Regions from separate parts of the Homo sapiens genome. Here region 2 is linked to region 1. Evidence: promoter capture Hi-C in 16 types of primary human blood cells and fetal thymus (Javierre and others, 2016). All regions are on one chromosome and are shown on one strand. The core of a region is centred on a gene start or on the middle of the fragment in contact, and the rest is flanking DNA. Distances in the headings are between cores, read along the strand shown.

Evidence for each region. Contacts are between HindIII fragments. The CHiCAGO score rates a contact against its expected background, and 5 or more counts as called.
Region 2: a contact is called between a fragment that was not itself captured here and the fragment with the promoter of PLEKHH2 in region 1, in 6 of 17 cell types (total CD8 T cells, activated CD4 T cells, naive CD8 T cells and 3 more). The highest score is 9.6, in total CD8 T cells.

What each region holds. Positions count from the first base shown.
Region 1 is chr2:43,634,818-43,639,200 of GRCh38, forward strand. PLEKHH2 (pleckstrin homology, MyTH4 and FERM domain containing H2) reads left to right here and starts at 2,443. Exons shown (of 30, transcript NM_172069.4): 1 at 2,443-2,562. RefSeq lists a silencer at 2,347-2,676. The HindIII fragment of the contact is 11,276 bases long and covers 1-4,383 here.
Region 2 is chr2:42,938,753-42,943,135 of GRCh38, forward strand. It overlaps LOC112268413 (a long non-coding RNA gene), which reads left to right and starts at 2,281. Exons shown (of 3, transcript XR_002959381.2): 1 at 2,281-2,318. The HindIII fragment of the contact is 1,406 bases long and covers 1,898-3,303 here.

The sequences.
Region 1 (4,383 bases), core at 1,193-3,692:
CAGTTCTTTTAGTCTAATTAGTATTTCTGACTCACAAACGGAAGTGATTCTATTTTGGCATTCTTTCTCTCTTTCTCCTGCTTGGTCTCTACTGACTTGCTGTGTTAAATTATGCAAGTTACTGAAACTCTGTTTGTTTAACTCCTGCGTGCTCTATAAAATAAGCCCAGTCCAGTCTGCTTGTTTGCCAAAGCTGTTTGAAGACAATTTTTCATATGATATGCATCATCAGCTCCCACAGAAGGCAAAAGGAATTTGATGTGTGGGGGTAGTCTGGGATCCTGTTCAAAATTAATGCTCATCTGGAAGAAATATGAAAGCCTGATACTTGCTTACTGGACTTTTAGTTGTATTCACTTATTGCTTTTCCTCTGAGAAACTTTGAAAATCTTTATCTCTTTTGTGGTTTTTTCTTTCCTTTTTTTTGAGACAGAGTCTTGCTCTGTCACCCAATCTGGAGTGCAGTGGTGCGATCTCAGCTCACTGCAACTGCTGCCTTCCTGGCTCAAGCGATTCTCCTGTCTCAGCCTCCTGAATAGCTGGGATTACAGGCGTATGCCACCATGTTCAGCTAATTTTTGTATTTTTAGTAGAGATGGGGTTTCGATATGTTGGCCAGGATGGTCTCAAACTCCTGACCTCAAGTCATCTGCCCGCCTTGGTCTCCCAAAATGCTGGGATTACAGGCATGAGCCACTGTGCCCATCCTCTGTGTGTGTGTGTGTGTGTGTGTGTGTGTGTGTGTGTGTGTGTGTGTGTTTTATATAAGATGAGATAAAGTTAAAAAAAAAAAGATTGTAGTAGAAAAAGTTTTTCTGATACTCTCTATTGGCCAACTGTGAACCAAAGAGAATAATCTGTCTGACCTAGCTTTGTGACCTGGGGAACGATTATCCATAACATTCAGAATTCTCTTTATTTTACCCTGAGATTGACCTCTCCAGACCCTAAGTTGGGATGTAAAATTCACCTGGATTTAAATTATCACTAATTTACTTATGCAATATGCTCTGTGCTGAGGAGAATGCAAAAAAAAAAAAAAAACCACAAATCCTTGTTTTCAAAGTGCTCACAGTCTAAAAGAGATGTGAGGAGCTGTGCATAAGGCAGAGGGAGCTAAGCCCCAAGAGAGGCAAAAATCTAGATGTTCAGGGAGCAGAAACCAGAGAAGACCTTTTTTTTTTTTTTTGTCTCAGATGGAGTCTTGCTCTGTAGGCAGGCTAGAGTGCAGTGGTGCTATCTTGGCTCACTGCAACCTCCGCTTCCCAGGTTCAAGCGATTCTCCTGCCTCAGCCTCCCGAGTAGCTGGGACTACAGTCGTGCACCACCACGCCCAGCTAATTTTTGTATTTTTAGTACAGACCAGGTTTCACCATGTTGGCCAGGATGGTCTCGATCTCTTGACCTCGTGATCTGCCCTCCTCGGCCTCCCAAAGTGCTGGAATTACAGGCATGAGCCACTGCGCCCGGCCCAGAGACGACATTTCTGCCAGGTGGAGCGACAGACATAGTTACATGGAGAAGATGATGATGATGATGATGATGATAATGATGATGATTTGAGACAGGATCTCGCCCAGTCGCCCAGGATCCAGTGCAGTGGCATGATCGCGGCTCACTGCAGCCTCCATCTCCTGTGTTTAAGCAATCCTCCAGCCTTAGCCTCCTGAGTAGCTGGGACTACAAGTGAGCGCCACCAAGCCCAGCTAATTTTTTTTTTTTGTGTGTATATATATATATATATATATATATTTTTTTTTTTTTTTTGGTAGAGACAGGGTTTCACCATGTTGCCCAGGCTCGTCTCGAACTCCTGGCCTCAAGTGATCCACCTGCCTCGGTCCCCCAAAGTACTGGGATTACAGGCGTGAGCCACTGCGCCCGGTGAGAAGATTATTCTGAGCTTTTTGAAGTGGAGACAGGAAATAGCATGTAAACGCTCCTAGTGCCACTTCCTTCGGGTGGCGAGGTGCACAGCAGTAGTCTCAGGTGTGTGAAGGGCAGCTGTGAGAAATAAACCTGAAAAGACGGGATGGAGACCTTGAACACTAGACTAGGGAATCTGTTCTTGATAATTTAAGCAAACGGAAGCCAATGAAAGTCTTTGGCACACTGTTCATCAAAACTGCTCTTAAGGAAATTAACCTGGCAGGAAGATGAAGGGTGGATTGGCAAGAGGAGAGACTTCAGACTGGGAGACCAAGGGAGGGTGCTGCAACAGTCCAGGCAGACGGAGTGGAATGAAGGTGACCGGCCGCTGCAGCAAGCTCTGGAGTCTCGCAGTTGGGACGTTAGGGGTACCACTCCAGGACAGAGCTCCCTCCTGGGGCAGGGACTGGGAGGAGCCAAAGTTATAGCCACACCCCCGGTGACGCCCGGTGGTCGGCTGTGGTCTCCCATTGGCTACACCGGCTGCCAGTCCCTGGAGGAGGCGGTGCCCTTCCCCGCCCTCTCCGAGCTCGGCTTGAGGCGGGCGCGGGCTGAGAGTCCGGGGATCCCGGGGGCCAGTCGCGGCCGGGACATCGGGCGCTGCGGCCGGGGACCCGCTGCTGAGATAGACAGGTGAGAAAGCCCGGGGACGAGGGGCCACTCCAGAGTTCCTGCCACCCTGGGATCCCCGCCCCCTTGAGGGCGCCCCGTCCAGGGGGGCTCGCGGGGCCGAGGTTTGGGGCGCCGGGAGGAGCGGGAAGGCGGGGACGAGAGGGACGGAGCGGGCTGACTCGGGATCCGCCGCTGCACCTCCCGCCACAGCCCAGAGTCGGCCCCCAAGTCTGGATGTCGCCGGGAGAGGTGGGCAGGGGGCGGTGGCCGGCGGTCCCTCGCGCCCGTGGGCTCCCGTGACGTTCTGTTTGGAAACACTGGGCCCGGGCTTCTGGCGCGGCGCGAGCGGTCCCGGGGGCGCAGCGGGGCAGCCCAGGGTCCCCGAGCCGAGGGACCCGCGCGGTCAGGGATGCCGCGCTCGCCTTAGGCTTCGGGAGATCCACCAGGATCTCCGGGGCGAAACTTTAAACTCAAAACTTTAAAGAAGCATTTTGTACACCTCGAGTTGCTGGCACGTCAAAGCACCCTAAGGTGACCTACCCGGAAACCACTGTCCCCGAAGTTAGTGGGGCACTTTTTAAAGGACAACACTTTTTACCCGTCGATATTGTTGTGCGTAACGCTGTGGAAATAGAAGTCGAACCACTTACATTGGAAAAGCTCTGGTGGTGGGCTACCTGAGGGTCACTGCTTTCTTTGTGAAAATGCCAGTCTTGGAAGCCTGGCCCGCACAGCGGTGTGTCCCAGAGGAGTATGTAGTGAGGAGCTCGGCTGTTCTGGGCAGGGTCACCGAAGGGCAGGCGTTGCCCAAGTGGGGCTAGGTGGCTAGGTGGTGGTCAGAAGGTTCCTTAAACAAGGCATGCCTCAGTCTCGTCGAGAAAGATCTTTTAACACACACACACACACACACACACACACACACACACACACTCACACACACGATTACCCAGCCCAGTTAAGCTGTCCCTTAAGAGGCAAAAACTAAAGAATATCATAGAGACTAACGCTGCGCTTCATCAGGGTAAGCCTAAGTAGAATAATTCTTTCATTTCTTTTTCTTTCCTTTTTGGGATTTGGAAGAGAAACAGGAAGTCAGAGATTCAGAGAAAAGAGCATTCACTCCACAATTGTAAACAGTTTATCTTATGTCAGTAAATACTTCCAAAAATCACTGGGGGTATTTGGAACTCCAAGACTTTTTCCTGTCCCCTGAAGTGAAGATAGATTATTTTCAAATGCAGAATCTAGACATGATAGATTCCTTTCAAATTCAGAATCTATATGTGGTATTTTCTTTATTTAGCAGTCGGCTATGTTATATAGTTATATATATATTCCCAATGTTATATAGTTCTATAACATTAGTGGTAATGAAAAGGATGGCGGATATTGTTTAAAATTAGAATTTTTAACTACCCAAGATGGTGCACTAATACAACAGTTGCTTTGTACTTGTTAACTAACTGAAATTACAGAATGAAATGAGGGAATCAGGTGTCTGGATCTCAGTGCAGACCATTATCCAACCAATTTGCAGTTCTGATTTATTATGACCCATTAATAGGGAATGTAGATGTTAAATGCCAATTTAATAATATTCTTAAGGCTTTGCTACTTCACTATAAAATATATAATTAGCATAACTAAAGAAATAGGTATGTTTGACTTTGAATTAATTTATTATGTCATCATAGCAAAGTGCGCTAGGTAAGATATATGTATGATACTTTTCATATTTGGGGTTAACAGTTACCTCTCAATTTTTTGAGCTAATTGTGAAATTCTTGGCAGGGATAACCACAAATAATGGTTGATTAAATTTGTAAATGCAGTCCTAGTATA
Region 2 (4,383 bases), core at 1,351-3,850, 700 kb before region 1:
CCTGTGAACCTGTGTTGCAGCTGTTCCAGATTCCATGTCATCCCCAGCCCCACAAAGTCAGCCTTGTGCTTACTGACTCCATGGTGTGGCTTTCTCATGCCTCCTGCTTGGTATGGACAGTCCTGTCTCTGCCCATCACATTCCTACCCTTCGTTCAAGACCCAGACACCAAATGCTCAAACCCACATGGTGATTAAGAGCATGGAATCTACAACCAGATTGACCAGGTACAAGACCCAGTTCTATTTCCTCTAGAGTTTGACCTTTTGAGAAAGTTTTGTAACCCTTCTTTGCCTAGCTTTACTCATCTGTAAAAGGAAGACAATAGTAGTAGCAACTGCTTCATTGGATATTGTGAAGATTAAGTGAGGCTACGTGTAAAGCACTTGAGACAGCGTCCAGCTTGTGGTCTGCACTGTATGTCAGCTGTAATACCCCAGATTATGAAGCCTCTGCTGATCCTTCTGAAGGCTACTCTGGGCCACATCAATCTCTCTCTTTCCTCCATACCTCAAGAATTTTCCTTGACACCAGTAGCAATCTGTACCATATCTGCCTGGTTGTGAAGTTAGGATTCTTTGATGGCAATTGGACAATTGTTCAAAACCCACTGGATCAAACGAAGGGATTTTTTTTTTTTCTTTTAGAGACAGGGTCTATCTTGCCTAGGCTGGTCTCAAGCGATCCTCCCACCTTGGCCTCTCAAAATGCTGGGATTAGTGGCATGAGCCACCACGCCCAGCCCAAACAAGGGGATTCTTATCACAAGCGTGTGAATGGGCCTTGCAGCGTCCCAGGGCAGGAATGCACAGCACCTCAGGAAACCCTGGCACTGGCGTCTGGAAATACTGCTTGGGTAGGGTTCTCTCTCTGAACATTCATTTAATTATTCTCTCTGTAGACTGTGGCCTTGCAGACTTGGCTGGAATCCACTGTTTATGGTACTCAAGGGTACACGCCACAGTCTGACATGGAAAGATGGAATCTCCTCCTTCATCCCAGTTCAGCCCTGACCAGCCTCTCTAGGGGCAGGGGCAAAGGGAAGGGTCATGTTATACAGAATTATTGCTGAGGGTGTCTCACTTTGGGTGAAAGGGTGCATTTAGAGGGGTCCATGCCAGAGACTACAAATTGGTCCCCAGGATTTATTTCCCCATCTTTCTCAGTTATAGAACTCCCGGGTTTTTGCTGTCCTAAATAAAGACTGCATTTCCCAGCCTTCCTGGCAGTTGGAAGGGGCACGTGATTAGGTTCTGGCCAAAGCGACATTAAAGGGAGGAGAATGCCTTTCTTTGCTTCCTCTGGCTAGATGGACTCTGGAGCCAGGCTGGCGGAGTTCAAATCCTAGTCCTGCCACCTATGAGTTGTGTGACTTTGGACAAGTACCTAACCCTTTTGTGCCAGTTTCCTTTGCAGTAAAATGGGAATAAAAAGAAAATCTACGTAACAGTAGATATTCTGTGAGGATTACGTGAATTCATATTTGAAGAGTGAGTAGAAGGGTTCCTGGCACAAGCTCTACAAGTGTGGCTGGAATGAATATGATGATGAGGATGAAGATGAGGATGGCGGGGCTGGAGCTCAAGTGCCATACTGTGTCCTGGAGCAGAAGCCACGTGTTGAGGACAGTCTGGACCCTTAACGAGGGTTGAGCCACGACACCAGCCTGTGACTGTTTACCTCTTGAGTTTGTTTACAGGAGAAGAAAATAAACTCTCACCTTGTTTAACACACCATCCTGTTGGCTTTTCAGTTTGCTTGTAGCCCGATCTAATCCTAACTGATACAGGAACATTGTAGGTTCAACTCACATCCCTGTCCCCTGCACCATGTTGTCGCTCTTTAAGATAATGTCTCACTGTTCCTACTTGGGTTGTACATTCCTTGAGGACGGAAAAGCTTCCCACTCACAGTAGGTGCCCAGAAAGTAAGTATCGAATTAATGGAAGAACAATGTGAAAATCATTCTGGTTAGGTAGACAAGGAATTCTTTGGCTAGTTGCAGAAAATCAGTGATAGTAATAACAAAATTTATCAAGCATAATGGCTGGCGTGCTTTTTTTTTTTTTTTTTCCAAGTCAGAGTCTTGCTCTGTTGCCCAAGCTGGAGGGCAGTGATGTGATCACATCTCACTGCACCCTTGACCTCCTGCCTCAAATGATCCCTCCATCTCAGCCTCCTGTGCACCAGCACACCCAGCTAATTTTTAAATTTTTTTTTTGTAGGGATGAGGTCTTACTATATTGCCCAGTCTGGTCTTGAACTTCTGGACTCAATTGATCCTCCTGCCTCAGCCTTCCAAAGTGTTGGGATGACAGGTATGAGCCACTATGCCCAGTCCCTGGCATTCCAAGTACTTCAAGTGTATTTTATAGTTCAGCTCTCATGACAATCCTATGAAATAAATACAGTTGGCCCTCTACACCTGTGGGCTCTGCATCGATGGATTCAACCAACCATGGATTGATAATACCCTATTTGAGAAAAAAAAAAGATAGTCCCATCTGTGATGAACATGAACAGACTTTTTTTTCCTTGTCATCCCCTAAACAATACAGTATAACAGCTATGTATATAGCATTTACATTGCAGGAAGTATAAGTGATCTAGAGATGATTTAAAATATAGGGAGGATGTGTGTAGGTTATATGCAAATACTACACCATTTTATATCAGGGACTTGAGTACCGTCACATTTTGGTATCCTTGGGGGAGTGAGGGTCCTAGAACCAATCCCCCACGGACACCAAAGAATGACTGTACTCTCATCAGTTCCATTTTACAAATAAGGGAACTGGGCTTCAGAGAGATGGAGGTCAAGGTCATAGATGCAGCCAGTGGAGCCTGGCTTCAGAGCCCAGCACCTTCACAATTTTGCTGTGAAACCTTCTCAAGGGCTTTTCTCTGATGGGAGCTTTGGAAAGGAGAGGCTGTACAAGTCAACAAGAACACAGCGCGTCAGAGTGACCTTGCTTCTCTCTTGATTTTGGAGATTTGTTTGGAGGGCTGAACTTCAGGGAAACAAAGTGAAATGTCAGGGTTTTCCTGAGGTCAATGGGGGTAAAGACCCAAATGGATTATGAAGCCTTCCCTGACCCCCTAGTCCACACTGACCTCCCCTGTCTTCTCTGTACTTGCATAGCCTGTCTGTTGACATGGCTAGCAGCTGGCCATACTGGCTAATCTCCGGCAAAAATTGTGACATTGGCAGAGTTTGTCTTCATTCCTCTCCTATCTGCCTGTTATTTGATTTTCAGCCTCTTATGTCCTGTTTGGGCCCTCACATGTTCTCTCAGCAAGGAAAGCTTCATTCTGAAAGATGAAAATAGAGAACACAAAACTTAATTCCCCAAAATGAATATTTAATGGTGGGATTTTAAGCAGCAGAGATTTGGGAGTTGAGGAACTTGCTGTCTCTCTAATCATCTCGTTCTTCCCCTTCCCCTCTCCCTCCCCTTCCTCTTCCTCCTCCTGGTGTCTTTTTATGATTATTATTTAACCACTTCACACTCCCCACTTCACACTCCCATCTATTAGTCTGGATGGCCCACTTCCAGTCCTACATGGTCCCACTCGCATGGGTCACCCTGGTCACCCTGGGCTCAGGACCCCCCTGGCACTTACACTCCAGGCTGCACAGCCCCCTGCCTCCACAACCCCCTGCCTCCATGTGCACACTGCCAGTCCCCGGAACACTGCTTATGTCTTTGGTTTTGTTAAACTGTTTGTTCTGAGAGGACAAAGACCACATCTAATGACCAGGGATGTGGTTGCAGGAATTTTTACTTCAAAAGGCATGTTGGTCTCCATGGCCTCTCAAAGCTCCTACACCCTGAGCCTTAAAGCTTCTCAGCTCTTCCCCTCGTTCTCCCCATTGTGCCTGCTTCTGGATTGGGTAGAAGAGAGGTGCTTAGGAAGGATGTATTGAGCTGCTGTCTAACTCTTTCTGTAAGCAAGGGCACAGGCCCCTGAGACAATGGTGGAAAAGCTCTCCTGTTTTCAAAAGTCCCTCAACGTGCAGGCCCCTTGGAGGCAAAGCACCTTCAGGATTTTAGAATCAGAGTTTTTTCTGGGCCGCAGGACAACCTGCTCTGGCACTCGCTCTGGCCTGGCCATCTCTGGGCTCCTCTTGGTCAGTATCTGGGCAGCCTTTTAGAGGGCCTGGAAACCACAGCTAGCCCTTCCCAGAATGACTCGACATCCAACGTGGACTCAATTCCAGTCCCCCTTGGCTCCAGGAGGCCCGTCCCACAGGACAAGGCCAGGGCCACAGAGGTCCCAGATTTTCTCAGATTCACTGCTGACCAGGGGCAGCCATGCCAGAAATTCTGCAAAATGCCAAGCACAAGCACTCTCAAGCGGTGGCTTCATAGTTCCCACAAC